Regions from separate parts of the Homo sapiens genome. Here all the other regions are linked to region 1. The links are contacts of gene promoters, found by promoter capture Hi-C in human tissues and cell types (Jung and others, 2019). All regions are on one chromosome and are shown on one strand. Each heading gives the region's core, a stretch centred on a gene start or on the middle of the fragment in contact. The rest is flanking DNA. Distances are from core to core; before and after follow the strand shown.

The links. The method cuts DNA at HindIII sites, captures the fragments that hold promoters and counts their contacts. A contact is called where the count stands out against the background at its distance.
Region 2: a fragment that was not itself captured here is called in contact with the fragment with the promoter of SLC1A2 in region 1 in 1 of the 25 tissues and cell types used here (dorsolateral prefrontal cortex).
Region 3: a contact is called between a fragment that was not itself captured here and the fragment with the promoter of SLC1A2 in region 1, in 1 of the 25 tissues and cell types used here (dorsolateral prefrontal cortex).

Annotation. Positions count from the first base shown.
Region 1 is chr11:35,417,597-35,421,232 of GRCh38, reverse strand. It overlaps SLC1A2 (solute carrier family 1 member 2), which reads left to right and starts at 1,675. Exons shown (of 11, transcript NM_004171.4): 1 at 1,675-2,283. The coding sequence starts at 2,267. It overlaps SLC1A2-AS2 (SLC1A2 antisense RNA 2), which reads right to left and starts at 2,176. Exons shown (of 2, transcript NR_186310.1): 1 at 2,126-2,176; 2 at 231-697. RefSeq lists an enhancer at 1,529-2,029. The HindIII fragment of the contact is 13,805 bases long and covers 1-3,636 here.
Region 2 is chr11:34,349,097-34,352,780 of GRCh38, reverse strand. The region is part of intron 1 of ABTB2 (ankyrin repeat and BTB domain containing 2); the gene reads left to right. Among named protein-coding and RNA genes, the nearest start is that of ABTB2, 7.1 kb to the left of the region's middle. RefSeq lists an enhancer at 586-635. The HindIII fragment of the contact is 5,708 bases long and covers 1-3,684 here.
Region 3 is chr11:36,498,586-36,502,043 of GRCh38, reverse strand. TRAF6 (TNF receptor associated factor 6) reads left to right here. Exons shown (of 7, transcript NM_004620.4): 2 at 507-824; 3 at 3,404-3,458. The coding sequence starts at 529. Among named protein-coding and RNA genes, the nearest start is that of TRAF6, 10 kb to the left of the region's middle. RefSeq lists an enhancer at 47-1,246. The HindIII fragment of the contact is 4,610 bases long and covers 1-3,458 here.

The DNA of each region.
Region 1 (3,636 bases), core at 426-2,925:
CCTAAGACGAAGAGATGCTTATGGCATTTTTTTTTAAATAAAGAAAATGCAAAGTTAGAGTGGTTCTGAAGGAACCTAGGATGAATAAGGTACAGACATGATTATTCTAATGGTGCAGACAGGATTGAGAGAGAAGGGGGGAGGGGAGAGATGGAGAAAGGCATGGATGGAAGATGACGTTTGGATTCAGATTTTGGAAAGGAGAGTAAAGGAAGGAGGTAAGCAGAGATTTATTTTTTAAATTTTATTAATGTGTTTTCCCCTCTTTTTCTTGTTATTTTTCTCATCTGTCTGTTCATACTTGGATATTTTGTCCAATAAACTATCTTCTAAGGACTCTGAAAATGCACTGAATATTTTTGGAGGGTTTACTGGGTGCCAGACGCCACTTTAGGAGTTTTACATATCCTCTCCATTTCATTTAGTTCTCTTAGCACAGAGAAGTGGGAGAAGATAGTCCCATTTTACAGGTGGGATGAAGAGAGAGATGGAGGAATTTGCCCCAGGTTACTCAGCTAGAAGGTGGTGAAGAACTCAAGCCTTCGGATATCAGCGCCTGGCATTTAACTACCAATCGGTCCTGCTGGGACTCCGGCTCCTCTGGCACCATCCCCGGGACCTACTCAGAGAGTTTGCACGTGGCCGGTCGCGTTCCATCGTCTAACAAGGTCCAGCACAGCGCAAATCCGAAGATCGTCTACCCCGGGGAAAAAGAGAGTCTGTTTAATTCTCCTGTGGCCCTCCAAGTGAGTTCTTTTGGGTTCCATTGCCTAGACGAGGAAAGTGAGGCTTTGCCTGCTCTGCGCTCACAGGGTCGGCAAGTAGTGGGACCCTAGGTTCCTGCAGTATTCCAGAGATAATCAAAGCTGCACAGGTCTCGTCATTTTTATGCAAAGGCGTCCGGAAGGCTCGAACTCTCCCTTGCACAAGCCCATCTGTCTCTGTGCGCCGCCCCCGGGACACGGAAGCAGGCGGCGAGCAGCGCCGAGTGGGTGGAGAACCGTCCCCCGCCACTCACCCCTCGGCCAACTCTCCGCGCCTTCTCAGCCGGCACCCACGAGGCCGACCTCTCTCGGCCTAAAAAAAAAAAAAAAAAATCCCGGCCTCCCCTGCACCCCGCCCGCCGCCCCCAGGGAGCTGCATTAATATTAATCTCGCTGAATAATTGAAGGCCAGAGATTTATTCGAGCTTCGGCGGGGGAGGGAGCGCAGCTGGGCCGCGTTTAGGCTGCACCACCCGCGTGTTTCAGCCGCTCGACTCCGCTGGACCTGGGACCCCCAGACGTGGGAGGATGGGGTGGGTGTGCCTGCCTGTGAGTTTGGGGGTGAGTGTGAGCTGAAGCGGGTGCTCCGGGGAGTGAGGAGGGAGCGCCAGGGGCTGCTCCAGGGAGGCGGAGACGGAGGGGCATCCCGGGTCTCCGCGCGGTCGCCTGCGCTTCACCCCGCACGGGGTGACCTGGGGCCACGCGGGCTTCAGGGGAAACAATAGCTACTCCTTAGATCCTGGGCTCCTGCCACCGGCTGCCCAAGCCTTCCCGGACGAGCGGCGGGGCCTCTTTTCTTATTTGGCTAATTTATGGCGAGAGGCTGGGGGGAGGGATGGCAGAGGAGGGACCGCGACTGGAGATGGGGGCGGGGGGCGGCGGTTAAAGGAGTTGCCCGAGGCGGCGGCGCGGGTGATGTCAGCTCTCGACGAAAATAGAGAGGGATCGCCTGCAAATCCCCAGCTCCGGCGGGGCTAAACCTTGCAATCCCTCCCTGGCCGGCGCCGAGCCAGAGCGCAGCGGCCTCCACCGCCTCCCCAGGCGCGCACACACCCGCACACGCGCACGCACGCTCACCGTCCTCTGCCACCACTCTCTGCTCCCGCCACTCGCCGCGCCCGCGAGCCCCGCAGCAAAGCACAGGTGGCAGCGGCTGCAGGGGCGCATCGCCGGCGTGCGCCCTCCTGCAGCCCTGGGCGCATCGCTCTCTCGGGGAAGCCACCCTCGGAGCCCCCGGAGCTCCCCGCCAAGCGCCATCCCCGCGGGCGGAGGGGAGCGCGGGTCGCGCGCCGTGGAGAGCCGGGACGCGGATTAGCGCCCGCAGGAGCCTCCTGCGCCCGTTGAGGCGCTAAAGGGCTTACCCCGGAGGCGGGTGGAAGGGCGGGCAGAGGCTCCTCTTAAATACCGCTCCCGGCCGCACTTCGCGCTCACCCCGGCGTCCGCTTTCTCCCTCGCCCACAGCTGCCGGATAGTGCTGAAGAGGAGGGGGCGTTCCCCAGACCATGGCATCTACGGAAGGGTGAGGGGATTTTTATCTGTACCCGCGGGAAAGCGGGGTCACGCGCGGGGTGGTGGCGCCCCTATCCGGGATGCGGATAGAGAGGCGGCGGCGGCGGGCCTCGGAGGTGGTGGCGGAGCCGTAGCTTGGCTGGGGATGGGATGGTGGGGAGGGGATTGATTTTCTTTCCTGGAGATTGCTGCTTAATCCTTTGAAAATGCGAGAGGTGGAGGGTTGTTTTATTTTGATAAAAAGGGTAAGGTGCGCTGGGGGCCTGAGAGTGTGAGGAAGAAATCCTCTTGAGGTTACTTTTGGGATTTCAAAACAATAGGGGATTGGGCATAGTGTGAGCAGACACCGGGGTAGCAGCGCCTGGAGCGCGGCGCCCCAGGCCCGAGGCGGGCTTGCAGGTGGTGCCGGCTCGGAAGGAATGAGCCAAGACAGGGCCCTGGGGCGGGGCAAGGACCAGCGCGCGCGGCCTTGAACGCCAGGTTTGCAGAGTCGCCATGGAGATGCTGGGCCCGCTCCGATCGGTCCTTGTCCCTGGAAGGCGGAATCTCCCTGGCTAGCTCTAAGGAAGGGTGGAAGAGATTTGGGTGCTTCCCGGGAGGCGGGAAAACGTGTGGTTTGGGACAAGGGCAGGAGTCGCCAGACTCCAGCGGGCAGGGATAGCATTGGCTTCCCTATTCAGCCCGAGGATCTGGAGTCGTGTCCTGCCTCCCAAGATTCCAGCTGGCATGGGGAAAGCTCCCTCGCAGTGATAACTAAAGACAATTGTCTTTAGCAAGAGACAGAAGGGGCTGCAGGGGGCAAAAGGATTCTTTGAATACTCACACATCAAAGGAAAGGTCCACAGAGTCCTTGGACCAGTATCTCCCAGAAAACTTTTTGGGCTTCGTAGAACCTGAGTGGCAATGAAAAGACTGGGCAGCTCAGCCCTTTGGTTAATTCCCAAAATTGCAGTTACTCACTTGCAAGCGATCACAAAATCCATGTTATGTGAAAAGCAAATATCAGGGGCTTCTCTGGGCTCAAGTGGTGGTGTTGGCATTTTCCAGTTTCTCCTAAGAAATTTTACCAACTCCGCAGGCTTGTTTTAGGGGAATGGATCTCTAAACAGGCTGAAGAGCTGGTATCCAAAGCCAGATCTCTAGACTGCAATCTCCAATAGAAGGAAAATATTTCTAGAACTGTCTCTCTGTCCAGGAGAAGGAATTCATTCATTTTCTGTCCCCCAGAGTCCTTCCAAAGGCATCTGGCATCTTGTCATTGCATGAAATTTTGTCTCTCCCTTTGCCCTATTTTGCAGTTTAGACTTTTTTGATTATTATTTCTCCAAAAAGATGTTTCAGGAAGACACCTGTGTACAAGGAG
Region 2 (3,684 bases), core at 387-2,886, 1.1 Mb after region 1:
CCTGGCCATACACAACTTTGCCATTTACATGAGTGGCCTGGTGCAATTTTCTTAACCATTCTAACCTTCAATTTTGTCATCTGCAAAATGGGACATAGTAAGAGCACCTAGCTTATATGGGTGGTATGAGAATTAAATGAGACTATAGATTGAAAGATCTTAGCACATAGTAAATGCTCAATAAATAGTAAATTCATTCAACAATTATTGAGCACTGACCCTGTACCCACCACTGTTAAAAGTGCTGTGGACTAAGTGATGAACAAGGGGAAAAGCCCTCCTCTCATGAAGTTTATAATCCAGTGGAGGAAATGAGAAAAAGTAAATAAGCAAGGATTTTCTCTTGGTAATGAGTGTTGTTTAAAATATTTTTTTTAAAGGGCAGGGTAATGGGATGGTGTGACGGGGCTAATTTAAATGACAGTCAAGGAATGCTTCTCTGAAGGTTTATTAGTAATAGCCAGTAATATCAATACTACTAAGGACCTTTAGGCCAAAAATAGTGACTGAGGACTTTTCTGAATGATTCAGTTATTCACCAGCTGAGAGAAGTCTCAACATCTCACTTAGAGCTGAGAAAGAAAAGGGCTGCATGTAGAGCAGGGACGAAACCTCTTCTGGTTGTGGGATTTATTTAGTGATGAGATTGTAGGATGAATTTCTACTGAGAGAAGCAACTGAAGCAGCAAGGGTTGATTGAGCTTGTCAGGTGGTGTTTAATCAGTTTCCACACCTGGGTAGTCTGAAGGATGAGGGCTGCTTCCTATCTCTTTAACCATTTTATTAAAGCCAAGAGAGTTGGTAAAACTGAAACAGAGCAAGCTTTGGAAATGAAAAATTTTTTTTTCTCGCACGCCTGAGAAAGGCAACCCTAGCCTTAAGTAGTAAGAGGAACAAGGTAGAGTTGTTCCACTTCCTCCTACTGAAAGCTCTACCTGACTCCCCCAGCTGGAAGAGCCACCCCTTTGTGATGTTTCCTCAGCACCCAGGACATATTCTTAAATCATTTCCTGCTTGTGTGTGTCTCTCCCATAAAACTGTGCACTTCATAGGCATTGCTGTCTTCCCTGTACCTCTCATGGTGTCTACAATATGTGCTCTATAAATGATGGGCAAATGATAGATCCCGCCATACAGGTTTAAAATTTGTATTTGAATTCCTTTGATATATCAGAACCGTCCCCATTTCTACCAAGGCAGAAAATTTCCAAGTTGTTCTCAATGAATAGAGTCAGCATTTTGGGGCTACATCCAACCTTTGGGTACCCTGCTTTCTAGCAGGGTTCCCAAGTCTGGCTTTGATGTGCAAGATGTGAGTTGGGGGAATTTTCAGTTTAGGAGAATGTCTTCAGTGTACAATACCCAAGAGGAAGGGCTTCACAACAGACGTCTGGTACAGCAGGCCACAGAAAAGTCAACAGGAGGATTGAGTTGAAGGTTTCCTTAAGAATGGAAATACCAACCGCCCCCTTGCCAACAGAGCTGCCCCAGAGGACAATTTATGTTGATGACTATTGCTCAGAAGAGTTTACATCTGTGTCCCACTCCATCTGCCTCCAGTCTGAGGACTGAACCAAGGTAATCAATTGCCAAGACATTCCTGGGTTGGCATCCCAAGAATGGGAAGTTCTGAAACAAACCAGAGACACTTGGTTGCACATCCTCAGCTTTGTCCTTATCCCACCTCACCATCAGTATTCATCCTTTGTCCGACAGGTCAGTGGGTAGATGCTTCGCCTCTATTTCTACTCTTATGCAGCTGTAGTAATAGGTCTGACTTTTCCACAACACCTCAAGCTTATTCTCATCTGTGAGCTTTCTAGGTCCCCATGAGAATCCTGTGAATGTGTGTCCTTTCACTGAGAGGTCTCCATGAGTCCAGAATTCACAGCTCAATAATAACTAAGCTCAATAATGACTAAGTCCCATTTTGCTCAAGCCCCAGGCCTGTGCTTTTCCTATAAAGAATTACAGAATCCAAGGTAGCAAATACAGGTCAGTACTTGGCCCCATTCAGATGGCAGCTAGGGTCAAACTCATAGCAAGAACAACACTTGTTATAGGTCTTGTTTGTTAATGGCCTATGGTGTCCAGACACTTTACATTTGTTAGGCCAGTGAGTGTTCACGACCACAGTGAAAGAGCAGGCACTGACACCCAGGGGTGTATCTTCCTCCAAAGGTTGCTGTTACTCTGTTTAAATGCTGCTTGCTGGCTCTCCCCACCCTAGAGGTGCCACTGATTTTAAAGAGCCATTATTGCTGCTCCTGGGGATGGAAGAAGAGGGCACAGAGAGCTCTGCTGCCCAGGGAGGGCCTTTATAAGTGTCACCTGCTGGTGACCAATAAGCTCAGCTGAATAGAGAAGCCGCAGAGTACACTGCGATGCTCTTCTAAAGGATGGGCGGGTCAGCTCAGCAAAGGCTAATACATGAAGGAGAGAAGGCACCAAGAGGGATTTGAGTCTAGGTCACTGGTCTTGGGGAGCTTGGTGCACCTGTCCTGGAGTTGGCAGAAGAGCCTGTATGAAGGGGGCTTTGATTTCCTCCGAGTCCCCCATGGTGTCCGGCTGCTGACTCCATCTCGGTGTTTAGAGCACAGGGAGAGAATGAGTCAGCGATGTAGCAAAGCAGTGAAGGGCCCAGACTTTGGAGTCTGAATTGAGTCCCAGATTGATTTGCCTCTTACTGACCTAGGCCTTCAAGCAAGTCACACTATGTTTCTATTTCCTCTACTGTAAAATGAGAGGCTTGTACACATGCGGTTGTGCCTTATGCATACTCAGTGCCCTGGGATGTGAGAGATGCAGCCAGGCTTACTGGTGAGAGCACAGCACGGGGTGGGGCTGCCTGGCTGTAATTCCTCATAACTTCACTTGGGAGCTGTGTGACCCTGGGCAAGTTGTTTCACTTCCGTGCCTTAGTTTCTTCCTTGATCACAGGGCACCATTGACATTTTGGACTGGTTAATGTTTTGTCATGAGGTTGTCTTGGGCATTGTAGGATGCTTCATAGCCACCACCAGTTGAGACCATCAAAAATGTCTCCAGACTTTTCCAGATGTTCCCTGGGGAGCAAATTCACCCTTGGCTGTGAAACACAGCTCTATAAGATAGGACTGAAAATAGTACCCAACTCATAGGATGGTTGTGAGAATTTCATAAGAGTCCCTGTGAGGGACTTTGTGTTATGCCTGACACATAAGATATTCTAATTGTTTTTAACAAACTTGTGTTGGATCCACTGATTGTGTTCATTTTTGCCAAAGTCTCTGGTGCAAGGAGGGTCACGACCCAAATCTCAGGGAGATGGGTATTACTCGCAAGGCTTTCCTTGGTGGCTAACAGTTTGTTTGTGGAGGTAGGAGGAAGTTATGGAATCTGGAAAAGCACCCTTGCACCTTGCTCAGTTATGGCTCGATTACCCCCAACAACAAGTGGTCTGGCAGTGGGCAGAGAGATTAGATCTCACCCTCTGAGCTCAAGCCCATCTCTGCCAGGATGACAGCAAGAGTGCACATTCAAAGCTCCAGGCCCCCAGAGAGCAATTCTCCTGTGGATATTGGACCCTGCTTGTGGCAGCCGCCAAATCCTCAGCCACAGATCATAGCAGGTGTTTTGTGTTTTGCTGGCCTGTCATGTAAACACACTTTGTGGTCTTCCTGCTTGTTTTAAAAAAGGCCTAAG
Region 3 (3,458 bases), core at 257-2,756, 1.1 Mb before region 1:
CCTTCAGCTCAGGATACTTCAAGGAACTTCAACAACATGGATAAGTTCTTTAGCGATGCTTAGTGAACACTTACTGTATGAAAAATCGTGTGCTAAGTACTGCGGAAATGGAAATTAAAATATTTAGCTCAATCACAGGAAACAAACATGTAAACAGATAATTGTGATATAGAAGAGTATTACAACTGAGGTGCTTCTCCTTTTTTAACTTTATATGCTGTCGTTCTACTAGATCATGAACTTCTGAAGGGACCCAGCTTTCTTTGTGTGCTCCAAGTGATTTGCACAAATAATAATATATATATTTATTGAAGGAGAGAATCAGGTAACTTATAATAGTCATGAAAAAGCTCAAAACACTTTTAAAAGTTTTCTGTAAATAACATTAATACAGCTGATGTACATGAATTAAAAAGTGACTTGTATAGATAAGCTATGATATATATGTGTGGGGTGTGAGTGTGTGTGTTACTTATAAAGGCATTTTTTTCTTGCTATTTCTACAGAGCAAGTGATAATCAAGTTACTATGAGTCTGCTAAACTGTGAAAACAGCTGTGGATCCAGCCAGTCTGAAAGTGACTGCTGTGTGGCCATGGCCAGCTCCTGTAGCGCTGTAACAAAAGATGATAGTGTGGGTGGAACTGCCAGCACGGGGAACCTCTCCAGCTCATTTATGGAGGAGATCCAGGGATATGATGTAGAGTTTGACCCACCCCTGGAAAGCAAGTATGAATGCCCCATCTGCTTGATGGCATTACGAGAAGCAGTGCAAACGCCATGCGGCCATAGGTTCTGCAAAGCCTGCATCATAAAATCAATAAGGTACGTGAGCATAAGAAAAAATGGTGTCCTATAACAGAACCAGATGCAGAGAACATTGTTACATAGAACATGGAACATCCCAAAAGTAGTCTTACACATAAAAAGCTACTTAGGAAAAAAGAACAATGGACAGAAAATTGAGAAAGTTAGATTCTTATCCCAGTTTCCACTGTTGTGTGAAAAGTGACTTGAATCTCCTCCTCTCTTGACCCTTGGATAAATAAGTAAATAATTTGCTACTTTTACTTAAAGCAATTCTAATGCAGACTGGGGAGTGACTCTATGCTTTAAAGAAAATAGTATTTTTTAAATGTACCTTAAATTATGATGCTACTAGATAAGGATAATCTCAACCACACAAAGAATACTGACTCTGTAAGTGATCAGTTATTGTGATTTTAGGCATGTTAAATCTTGTTTATTACCTAAAGTGTATGGTCAACTGTAAAATTACCAGTATTTTTAAAGAAAGTATTAACTGAAGGCTCTACCTTCATAATATATCCAAAATCCAGTCCCTTCTCACTTCCTCCCTCTGCTACCACCCTGTTGTGACTCACCACCAGCTCTCTAACAGGCCTCCTGCTTTCTATTCTTGTCTTCCAGGCTGTTCTCAATACAGCAGCGGGAGTGGACCTAGTAAAATAAGTAAGATGATGTCATCTCTGCTCAGACCATTGTAGCAGGGTATCTGGGAGTAAAAGCTAAAATCCTTATAAGACCCTGTGTGATAGGCCCATGATTCATTTCCTGACCTCTTTTCTGCTGCACTCTTTGTCCTTCTACCCATTCATTCCCTCTTTGCTATCCCTTGAACATGTCAGGCATGCTCCTGCCTTGGTGAGTGGTGGCTTTAGCTCTTCTGTTTGTAACACTCTTGCCACAGCTAACCCCTTAACTCTTCCACTTTGGCTCAAATCTCACCTTCTCATAGGTCCCCTCACCACCGTATTTATACCACAGCGTGGTTCCACCTTTCTTGCCGAACAATCCCAATCTCTCCACCTGGCCCTAATTTTCTTTTTTCCCTTAGCACTTTCTGCCTTCTAAAGCACCAAATAATTTATGTGTTTATTGTCTGCCCCACTGGATGATAAGCTCCTTGAGAGCAAAGTATTAGATCTGTTTTATTTCTTGATTTTTCCCAAGTTCTGGAAATAGTGCCTGACCCATAGTAGATGATCAGTAAATCATGGTTGCTTTAACTGAATGAAAGTACTTGCAATTTCCATGGAAATAGATACATTTTACTATAATTCAAAAGTACATGGGAATTTTGTAGGTAACTAAGGAGTCCTATACAGGACAAAAAATTGGATGAAGGGGGGCAGATTTTATGTTCTTCAATAAATAGCCATCTAGTTATATTAGTGAATTCATTATAAGTCTGTCCTGGCAATTTGTTAGTCTCCAAAGTTTTTATCTGCCAACTTTTACATTAACTTTTCTATAAAACTTGAATTTAAGAGTAACTACATCCATACTCGGGACTTGGCTTAATTTAAATCACAAAAGATAATGTCTGCTGTTTCAATTTTGGGGAAAGATGTATTACACAGCGCTGACTTAACAAGATCTATTTTGGGTAGATTTTTCTCAACCTCCACATTATTTTATTTTTGAGATGGAGTCTTGCTCTGTCTCCCAGGCTGAAGTGCAGTGGCGCGATCTCGGCTCACTGCCATGCCCAGGAAGGTAGCTAATCTTCAGCAGCTTTTTAATAGCAAGATGTTCATGAAAGTAGTGGGACAGTGGTCTGAAAAGGAAATACAACCCACAAAAAGAAGTCTGAGGCTTTTTTTTTTCTGTCTCCCTGTAAGCTTTTTAAAAATGAACACTTAGCCCCAGTGTTCTTAAAGGAACTGCTCTGAAATTTCTCATTGAGTATGTTCACTCAAGGAATCAAAGTGCATCTCAATACAATCCCATTTTCTTTTTCTGAGGATAGTTTTTTCCATCATAAGAAAGAATAAACCACTGAGAAGCAGGACATAGAGGTCCTTTAACTTTCTGTAACATTGGACCCTAGACATACAAATAAAGGAAACTTTTGTTGCCTGTTAGCTGGAGTGTTATAGTGACTATTTCAGAGTAAACTTTAAAATGTGACCTCACGGAGGTACTGCTAAGTGCTTAAATTTTTACTTATGACTGAGCAATTGCATTATAGACATGTTATTGGTACTGTGAGCAGCATATTCCATCTTTCTAGTGTATTATATAGGTGTGACAACACAGAGGCCAGACTGCCAAAATTCCCATTCTTTCACTTCATTTTGTACCAATCAAAATACCTTATTCAGCTAATTTTTCTCAAAAAGCTGGAATCTATCCCACCATATAAAAATCCCTTAGCTTTTGATAGGTTATCAGTATGCTAGTTGTACTCATTTCATAAAAGAACAGTTTGTAAGCTCTCCATAAAAGGACAGTTTGTTTTGGTGACCTGCAATATAATATGTTAAATTGTTTTTACTTATGAAACAGTAAATGGAGAATTTATATATGGTGAATTAAAGTTGTTTGGATTTTCTAATGTGAGTCTTTAAATCTAATTGTGTGTATTTTGTTTCTGTTAGGGATGCAGGTCACAAATGTCCAGTTGACAATGAAATACTGCTGGAAAATCAACTA